Linked DNA regions of Homo sapiens: region 2 is linked to region 1. Evidence: promoter capture Hi-C in human tissues and cell types (Jung and others, 2019). All regions are on one chromosome and are shown on one strand. The core of a region is centred on a gene start or on the middle of the fragment in contact, and the rest is flanking DNA. Distances in the headings are between cores, read along the strand shown.

Region 1 (5,051 bases), core at 998-3,497:
TTTCACAAGCAGAAAATGGGAAAAGCCTTGAATTTGGAGTCAGAAGACCTGGCTCAGAGCACTAGTTTCACCTAGCAACCAAGTGGCCTTGGGCAAGTCACGATTTACCTACAAGTCTCAGTTTCTAAATCTCTAAAATATGGATGACACTAGTAACTCCCTCACAGGCAATGGTTATGGTTTCAATAGAGTAAGAGCTTCTTTGGTGCAGTGATTCTATTTCAGCCAAAATTATAATCCCAACTTATGGCAAATAATAGGTGCTCAACAAATCTTCACAGAATAAATGAAATACTTTAAAAATAAACCTGAAAGATGAGAAAGACATCATGCACAACACCATGAGGTGACATTTGTTTCTTTGCACTGTGTAGACTAAAGCAGAAGGGTCGCCCTCTTTGTGCTTATCTTTAATATATTATCCACATCATATGCAGACTCAAGCATGAAAACTTCTGGTCCCTTACGAAATACTGCAATAACTCAGGTCAATATAGAGCAGATTTTATATTTTAAATCCTTAGGTGTATTGCCCTAAACAGACTCACGTGTAAGATGAAATTCTATGAAAGCAAGAACTGTGTCTACGTTATTTAACACTGTTATTCACTGCCAATATTTGCCTAACATAGAGTAGGCAGCAAATGACATGTGCAAAGGCCCTGAAGCCCGATAAAGTATAGTGAAGAGTGACTTTTAAGAAGGCCAAAGTGACTGGTAGGCAGAGAGCAGAGTGTCATATCCAATGGGGTTGTGAAAGCAGGTAGGGTCCAGATCATGCAGGATCTTGTAGGCAATGTGAAGTTTTGCCTTTATCCTAAGAGCAACAGAAAGCCATGGAATATTTTTAAACAGGTGGTTGGCAGAGTAAGGAGAAAGGAAAGGGACATAATTATATTTGCATTTCACGAAGATCTTACTCTATGGTGTGCAGAAGAGAATGGTAGTTGAGGGAAGGGAGAGAAGGTGGAAGAAGAGTTAAGTTAGGGTGTAGAGTGAGTGTAGGCCAATCAATAGGCTATTCCAACAGTCTATTAAAAAGATAATGGTAGCTTGGTCCAAGGTAGTGGAGATGAAAAAAAAAAAAAGTGGGCATATTCCCAATATACGTAGACAAATCAACAGGATCTGAGTTTGGGAATGAGAGAAAGGAAAACACTCAATGCTTCTGAGCCTCAGTTCTTCATCTGTGAAGCTGGGCTGTTATTTATACTCCATCTGTATAATATCTATCTTGCAATCTGCTGTGACAATGATATGAAATAATTTAAATATTATGCACTTAATACAGTGCCTGACCCACAATAAATGCTTTTTAAAATCTCTGTTGCCATTATTATGGTCATCCCATGGAATGGCAACTACCAGAAGCTGAACATCAAAGGTAGAGAGGAGCAATGTAGTTAAAGATTCATATCCACAGCGCTAAAAGACACAAACTGTTATCAGCCGGTCACGGAGACAATTGTTCCAAAGAAACACAGCTGACTGCACAGATATTTCATCTAAGCCGATCTCAGTCCTCAGAGACCATTATGAGAAAGCACAGCTGGTATGATCACAGTCATCTGAGAATCCGGTAAACTGAGGCACAGGGATGGCGACAAATTTAACCAAGGAATAGATGCAGAAGAAGGACAAGGAAATGGGTATCTTGCTTCTCATTTTTGAGCCGATCCAACAAGACTCGGCCTGCATCCTGAAGAGCACGAATTTGTAACATCCCCTCTAATATCTCCAGGTCCCTTGCTGACAAGGCCCTGTCATCCCTTAGTTTAACACCGCGCATCCGCTCGCCATCAAACCAAGCCCTTCCGGTTCCCTGATCCTTGCTCACAGCGCACGAAGATCTCCAGGCCCCGGGAGCCCGACATACCTTAGCTTCGCGCTCTCGTTCCTCGGCAGTCGGGGTGCGCTTCATGCTGCCACTAAAGCCGCCTTCGCCACCGCAAGCTGCGTAGATCCCTCGCCCTGGACCCCGCCTCCTGCATGTAGTTCTCTCAGCGTCCTGCTCCCGTCTGGAGCTATTCTCCCTCTGAGTAGAAAAAACTACAACTCCCAGGATGCACCGCGGCGACACCCGCGAGCGCCACGGGATTTAGCACAGGAGAATTTCCCAGGTCCGACAGCTGGAAGAGCGTAGTCCGCTACCCCGCGAGCAAACAGGCTAGAGTCCAAGGAGAACTACATTTCCCAGGAGGCTACGGGAGCCTGCCATGTTTCTCCCGTGCTCCTCTCGGCCAGCCGCCCGCCACGCTGTCGGCGCTATAGCAACGGTAGCTAGCTGCAGGGCCAGTGGCACGGTGAGTACCCGGGAGGATGGGGGAGGATGAGGGTGGGTGGAGGTTGCTGACCCTCCCCACTGCAGCGCGGGCCGGGGTCCTAGGGTCCGCTCTGCCGCCTGGAGAAGGCCCTGGAGTTGGCCCTGGAGTTCTGCTGGCGTGAAAGCAGCCCAGCCCAAGACACCTCCACATCCTCAGGCCTGAATCACAGGCCGCCCTTTATCCCCACGTCCAGGACCAATTTGAAATGTTATATCCCAGCCATGAAGGTGAGAGTTGATGCTGCTAATTGCCATCTCTATCCAGATCCTGCAAGTTGTAGGTCCCTAACACAGTTTGCTCATTTGCCCTGGATTAGGAGTTGGTTGGTAGACCCTAAACCTCCTGAGTGGTCTATTGTTTGCTTAATTATATATTATTTGTTTATCATGTGATTACCTCCATAACTTGCTAGCTTCATAAAGGCGGGGGTTTTGCTTGCCATTTTAATCTCAGTACCTGATATTCATTTATTCATTCAATAAATATTTTTTCTTTATTCTTTTTTTTGTGTGTGTGACAGGTTCTTGCTCCGTTGCCCAGGCTGGAGTGCAGTGGTAAGACCTCAGCTTACTGCAAACTCCTCCTCCCAGGTTCAAGCGATTCTTCTGCCTCAGCCTCCCGAGTAGCTGGGATTACAGGCGTGTGCCACCACACCCAGCTAATTTTTGTATTTTTAGTAGAGACAGGGTTTCATCATGTTGGCCAGGCTGGTCTCGAACTCCTGGCCTGAAGTCAGCCGCCCGTCTCGGCCTCGCAAAGTGCTGGGATTACAGGTGTGAGCCACCACGCACAGCCAATCATTCAATAAATATTAATGTTGGTTCCCACCCTGTACCAGGCACTGTTCCTGAACAGTTGTGAACAAGACTAATACCCGTCTCAAGATGTTTATCCTTTTTTAGTGGAGACAAACAATAATTTTATCTGATAACTTCAGATAGAGGCAGTTGCTATAAGAGATACAAGCCATGCTTGGTGGCACGCACATGTAGTTCCAGCTACTCGGGAGGCTGAGGTGGGAGGATCACTTGAACCCATGAATTCAAGGCCAGCCCGGGCAACATAGCAAGACCCTGTCTCAAAAAAAAAAAAAAGAAAAGAAAAGAAATAAACAGTGAAGAAATGTAAGGAAGACTACTCTAACATAGGATGGTCAGGGAAAACCTGTCTGAGGAAGTGAACTGAGCTCCAAAGATTAAGGAACCAGCTAATACAAAGGCCTTGAGCAAGACAAGGGTATGGGGGGTTCGAGGAAAGTAAAGAATAATGTAAGTGAAGCATAGTGAGCAAAGAAGGATAACATAAGATGGTGTTGGAGAGGCATTGCAGCATTGTGCAGGGTTTTTCAGCTTCTACACTATTATTAACATTTTGGGCTGGATAATTCATTATTATGTCTCCTAAGCACTGTAAGATATTTAGCATCATCCATGGCCTCTACTCACTAGATGCCAGTAGCATCCCGCTTCCTTGTTGTGACAACCAAAAATATCACCAGACACAACTATTAATACTTTCAACTACCACCTTAAGTGAGTTAACTAATCTGTGTCTCAGCTTCCTCATTTGTAAAGCAGGAATCATTTGAGTAACAGCCTCACAAGGATATGGTGAGACACTTCATTCCTATAACAGAACACTTAGAACAGTACCTGGCACATAGTAAGCGTTCAATGAATGTTAACACCATCATCATCATCATCATCATTATTATTTTTAAAGTGACCTTAACTCTGTCATGGAAAACTAATCATTTTCATACACGGGCCTATGTGTCAACAGGATCCTAAAAATTGACCTTTTCTATAGGAGTACTTCCAAAAGAAGTAGATGATCTCCCAAGGATTTGTCTGTTAGCTGTTTCTGTAAAAGCAAAATGCAATGGTTCTCCACCATTTGCGAGTTGTAATAAAAGTTATGAACCCTCTTTAAAAGATATTGCATATATACATATACATACAAAATTTGGTAAACCATCTCTGGGTTCACAGACCCTGAAACCCCATGGACTCCATTCACTCACTCAACAACTATTTAATGAATGCCTGCTCTCAGAATGCACCACGCTCTATGCTAGCCTCCAAGAATACAGAGCTGAACAAGACAATGAAGCTTGCTACTGTCTTGGTCTTTACATTCTAGAACCAATATCCTAGAGCTTAAGAACTCTGCCCTTTAGAGTATCTTCATTCACAGTTTGCATGTAGCTTACTAGGTAGATTGAAATGAAAATATAAAATCCTTTATTTTTGCATACTAGATATTGTGTGGACCACTCACATCCATACTCAAAATAGAGTTACTATGGTGTATTTCTGTAAAGAATAGAAACTACAAAAATACTAGAATTAGCTAGAGAGCCTATATGTTGAAGTAGTTGAACCCTGGGTGAGACCTAGGCCTCATGGCAACAAAGGCAAGACACACACACAAAAAAACACAAACCCAGTTGGTAAATTTATGCAACGAAACCTCTTTCACAAAACTCACAAAATGCACAGAACTGCCCACTCATTTGTACATCAAGCAGACAATATTTGAGTAATATTGACATCCCAGGCACATGTGATCAGTGCTTTTAATTTACTCATCCCATTTACCCTTAGAATAACTCTCTGAGATAGGTATTATTTTCTCCATTTTTAAAACTGAGAGACTGAAACTCAGAGAGTTTAGGTGGCTTGACTAGTTTGTTAATGATAGAGCAACCATTTGAATCAAGTTCCT
Region 2 (5,192 bases), core at 1,422-3,921, 1.8 Mb before region 1:
TTTTTTCTGTGCCATCTTCAAGGTTTGCAACAAATAATAGTGTCTAACAGTAAATCAATTTTGAGTTAACTCATTGACAAATTAAGAGAATTCATCATATTTCCATTTGGTAATATGTCATCTCCATTGGGTGGCCTTCTCTCAGTGTTATTCTCTGGTTTTCCTTCATTACACTTACTAAAACATGAGATTATATATTTTTGTACTTGTTTGTTTAACTATCTTAGTGAAATGTGAGGACAACAGTCCTTAAGCAAGACATTGATCATCATTTAAGATTAAACTTAGTCTAAATTAATCATACTAAGTCATACTTAAATGAAAGTGTGTCCACCTTTTAAACTGGATAATATGGACATTGTTTTTCTACCATGCCTATTCAAATCTTCCCTTTACCCAGATGATTCAAGCCACTGAAACCTCTTGTATCTCTGATCTATATAAATTTAAAAAGTATTTTTAATATCCAGACTTTGTTAAATCCCATTTAATCCAAGTAGTAAATTTTAAGTACAGTATATACTTTGTAGAAAATATATAGGATAACTATCAATATTATCAATATTAAGATCAACAAACAATAACAGATTATTTCACTTAATTGTAGCCCTCCTTTGAGTTATTAATATTCCAATGTAATAGACGAGAAAAGTATAGTTCAGAGAGGTTAAGTGACTTGGCCAAAGTCATACAACTAATAAATGACCAGTTCCTATAACTGACTAGCTATCATTCCATTATACTATAACTCTCAGAGAGTTATTTGGAAGAGATCTTTAAACAGTAACAAACCAGGTGATGGAAAAACTTAATAATTTATTATAGGTGCAATATAAATATTTGTCAACATTCCATGCTGTTTCTTTCCAAAATATGAAGTCAAATAGATGGGCATATTTTCATTTAAGTATGATTTAATTAAATCAGACTAAATTTAATCTTGAACAATGGTCTATGTATTTACAAATGTTTCAGAATGTGAAGACACAAAAAGAATATCTATTAATTTAAAGACATGAGGATCACATTTTTAAACGTTTAATTTCCTCACAAAGCAGTATTACTACATTCTTTATCTTCTTCCTCTCTCACACCCCTCTTCAACCAGACACCCATCTACCATTACTCAAGCCACCACCTGTGTTGTTTAGCTCTGCACTTAACCTTCCCCCACTGTAGAGGACAATGGTCTTAGTGCATACAAGCTGATTGCAAATATTATACTGCTTCAAATCCAAAGTAATGTGTGAGATGGACATGAAAACTTCAAAATTGTTCCCCCACCCCCCCAACCCCCGCAGAACACACGGACAAATGTGGTTAGCAGGGTCTATCTTGTTCTCTGATCACTAACTTCAACAAAGAGGAAGTCCAAAGAGTGCAACTGCCAATGGTAAAAGGAACCCTTTACAAGAAAAAGGAAAGGAAAGGAAACTTCCTTTGTGCATAACAGTATAGCCATTTTTAACAATGGAAAACAGCCTGGGCTACTACTTCTCATGCTTCAACTTAGGAAACGTTTTTAGGTGAAGACTGATTCTGGACCAAAACTTCTTGAACATCCTAAGCTGACTCAGTTGTCCCTTTTCTTTGATTCTGACTTCCCACCCTCCATCATGCTCCTGCTCAGCTAAATCTTTCCAGCCTTACCTGTTGTTCTAACCACAGACCTAGGCTCTCTGCCTTCTGCCTCACTCTTATCCATCCCATACTGACTCCTCTCCTTCCTAAGGCAAAAAAAAAAAAAAAAAGACTTCTTCAAATCTACTCTCCCGTAGTAGATCTGCCTCCCACTACACTCTCATAAACTCAAGTTGAAGCTTCTGTCACAGATTCACAGATTCCTTCAACCTTCTGGGGCATGGAATGTAGCCTGCGCCACCAGCCAGCTCAGTCTCTTCCTGTTTTGGATTCTCCTCTCAGGCCCGCATCTTCCCAGCATCTTCTCTCCTCCCGTGCCCGCTCAGACCATCCTCTAAATGTCCTCAATTCTCAGACACACATCTCCGCCCCTTTCAGGCTCACGGCCCCTCAGAAGTCCTCTCCTCTCAGATCCACTGCTCTTTCTTCCTCTGATGCCTTTGCTTCCCAGACCCACAACGCCCCTCAGACCCACGCGCCCCTCGACCGCCCTCCCCCGTCAGACCTACACCAGTCACCTGGACCCGCCCCAGACCCTGGCTCCCCTCGGGCCACCTCCCTCCTCAGACCCATGCCCCCTTCAGGCCACCTCCCTCCTCAGACTCTCGCCCGCCTCGGACCACCTCACTCCCTCAGACCCACGCCCCCCTCGGCCGCCCTCCTCTCTCAGACCCACACCCCTTACCTGGACCCCCCTCTGACCTAGGCCCCCCTCAGACCACCTCTCCCCTCAGACCCACGCCCCTCACCTGGACCCGCCTCGCGGAGCCGATCTGCGTCTGCTGCACGAAGGGGTTCGGCACCGGCGGCGGGAAGAAGGACGCCTGACGGGGCACCATGGGCGGCCGCAGCCCCACGTTCCCGACGCCGGCACCTGGCACTGTGGCCGCCACTTCCGCCGCCTGGGCGCACCGGCTCATAGTTGAGCCGGGCGTAGAACCCGGCCGAAGCGATCTACGCGGGCGCTGCAGCCAAAACTGAGCCGAAGACCTACTAGAGTCCCAGCCTAGGGCGACGCTGGGGAGCCTCTGCGCAGGCGCTGAAGTTACTTAGACGCCTGCTGCTGCCGCCCTGCCCCTTCGGCTGTGACACGCCCCAGGCTCTGGCCACACCCCCTCAGGCATCTGGCTCCACCCCCTTGGTAATATAGTCCATCCCCTCGGAGGGGAATGTTTTCCTTCCGAGCCAAGACCCTGAAGGGTACCCCAGGATCCCTAACATTCCACAGCGAGACACTAGGCAGAGTTCCCTGCTTTAGGGTCGGACGGACCTGGATTTTCAATCCCTTTTACTGGGCCTGTGACGCTGGCCAAATCACTATCTCTATGAACCTCGGTTGCCTTCCGTAAAATGCAGATAAATGTATTCTCAGATAATCCTAACCTGGATCCAGTAATGCCATTGAGCAACCACTTCCCCTGGGCTGTTCCATTAAGTGAGCTAATATTAATACACCCATGATGGCACTAGGAGTGGAATTTGTTTCACTCAAAACATAATGGACTGACAGGGGAGAGATGGTTCTCCAGAGGAAAACTGAGCTACTATTACCAGAAAAGGCAAAAATTACAGTTGCCCTCCACGCTAGATGAGGAACCTGACCCAGAAAAGGGAAATGTATTGGGCTGTGGCTCCCTTTCACACTGAGGAAGTTCAAGCCTGTTTGGACCTATGTGGGTGCTCGTGGGGGTGGGAGGGCAGGGGTTTGTCCCATTATCTGAGGACAGTTGATCAACCCTGAGTGGCTGAGAGTTAAAGGAAGGAGATGATAATCAACTCATCCCAACTGATCAACTCTTCTCACAGCAGGTAGGAAGGCCAGGATGAAAATCTGAGTCTGAGCCCTGGGGTTCTCCAAAGTTACCCTCTGAATGTCAGAATCTTCCAGCCCTACCACATAGATGTGTGGCCTTGAGTCAGTCACTTAACCTGAGTTTGCTTCCTTGTCTAGGAATGGGAGATTCATTCTAACTCCATAGAATTGTAGCAAGGATTAAATAAAATAATGCATGTGTAGTGTTCATAGAGAAACACTGAAGAAATGGCATGTTTTAAGCATTATTATGTTGTGGAGCCACTGACTTTTCTCTCAGTGTAACAGGGAACATTAATAACAGTGCATTACAGCCATGATAGAAGATTCCCCAGTCTAGGGGGTCTTCAAGTTGGGACTGGCAGACCCTTGAGACTCTTTAGCCAGATACCTGCACAGAAAGATGTCTTTCCAACTGTCAACAACCTAAGCCAGGCCAGGTGCAGTGGCTCACGCCTGTAATCCTAGCACTTTGGGGGCTGAGGAGGGTGGATCCCTTGAGCCCAGGAGTTCGAGACCAGCCTGGGCAACAAAGAGAGACTCCACCATCTCTAAAAAAAATTAAAAATTAGCTGGCTGTGCTGTTGCATGCCTGCAGTCCCAGCTACTCAGGAGGCTGAAGTGGGAGGATTGCTTGAGCCCAGAAGATCAAGTCTGCAGTGAGCTATGATCATGCCATTGCACTCCAGCCTGGGTGACAGAGAAAGACACTGTCTCAAAAAAGAAAAAAAAAGAAGAAGAAGAAACAAAAAGAATCTGAGTCAAGGGGACAGGCCATGGGAGGATAAAAGATAGAAAAGATGGGGCCGAGAGTGGTGGCTCACACCAATAATCCTAGCACTTTGGGAGGCCGAGATGGGTGGATTGCCTGATCTCAGGAGTTCGAGACCAGCCTGGGCAACACGGTGATACCTGTCTCTACCAAAATACAAAACAAATTAGCTGGGTATGGTGGCGTGCACCTGTAATCCCAGCTACTTGGGAGGCTGAGGCAGGAGAATCACTTAAACCTGGGAGGCAGAGGTTACAGTGAGCCGAGATTGCGCCATTGCACTCCAGCCTGGGTGACAGAGTGAGACTCCATCTCAAAAACAGAAAAAAGAGATAGAAACAATGACATCAGGCTCACTGAGGAGGTCACCTGTAGAGTTCACTCCTTACGCACCTTCCTCACCAGCCCCATCATAAGAGGCCAGAAGCAATATATATACTATCAATCAGACTATCGGAGCCAGAAAGGGCCTCAGAAAAACCCCAGGCCTTCAATTTCTGTTCAGCAGTAGCTCCAGAATTTCTATGTAGGAGATTAGGAGTGGGTAGACTGGTAGGAAGGAGTAAGGAGCTTATCCATTAATACCAGCTGTGTTTAGAAGCAAGCACAGTATTTCTCCCTTAGCTGTGTTTACCCAGCGTGGTTTTGGGGGTGGTGGAGGGTAGCAGGAGCGGTTTTGAAGGTGGTGGGGGTGTTTTTGAGGGTGGCGGAGGGTGGTGAGATTCTGGTTTGAGAGCTAAAGCTCCTCTGCTAGGCTATCCTTTGGCCTTGTAGGTCCCTAATAGCTATGGGACCCTGGAAAAATCACTTCTCTTGAGCCATCAGTCTCTTCATCAATAAGATTCAACTAATAATGGCCTTTTTTATTTATGTGGTTGGAAAGGTTAAAATAGGTGACACGTGAAAAGTGCCTTGCACATAGAAAGCACTCTATTAATTGAGGGGGATATTATTGTTACTGTTCAT

Evidence for each region. Contacts are between HindIII fragments. The study calls those that stand out against the background at their distance.
Region 2: the fragment with the promoter of LPCAT2 here is called in contact with the fragment with the promoter of RPGRIP1L in region 1 in 1 of the 25 tissues and cell types used here (bladder).

Annotation. Positions count from the first base shown.
Region 1 is chr16:53,701,055-53,706,105 of GRCh38, reverse strand. RPGRIP1L (RPGRIP1 like) reads left to right here and starts at 2,247. Exons shown (of 27, transcript NM_015272.5): 1 at 2,247-2,303. It overlaps FTO (FTO alpha-ketoglutarate dependent dioxygenase), which reads right to left and starts at 1,950. Exons shown (of 9, transcript NM_001080432.3): 1 at 1,877-1,950. The coding sequence starts at 1,921. RefSeq lists enhancers at 1,728-2,137, 1,752-2,252 and a silencer at 2,288-2,337. The HindIII fragment of the contact is 17,694 bases long and covers 1-4,834 here.
Region 2 is chr16:55,506,551-55,511,742 of GRCh38, reverse strand. LPCAT2 (lysophosphatidylcholine acyltransferase 2) reads right to left here and starts at 2,671. Exons shown (of 14, transcript NM_017839.5): 1 at 2,391-2,671. The coding sequence starts at 2,561. It overlaps MMP2 (matrix metallopeptidase 2), which reads right to left. Exons shown (of 13, transcript NM_004530.6): 13 at 5,052-5,192. The HindIII fragment of the contact is 8,978 bases long and covers 1-5,192 here.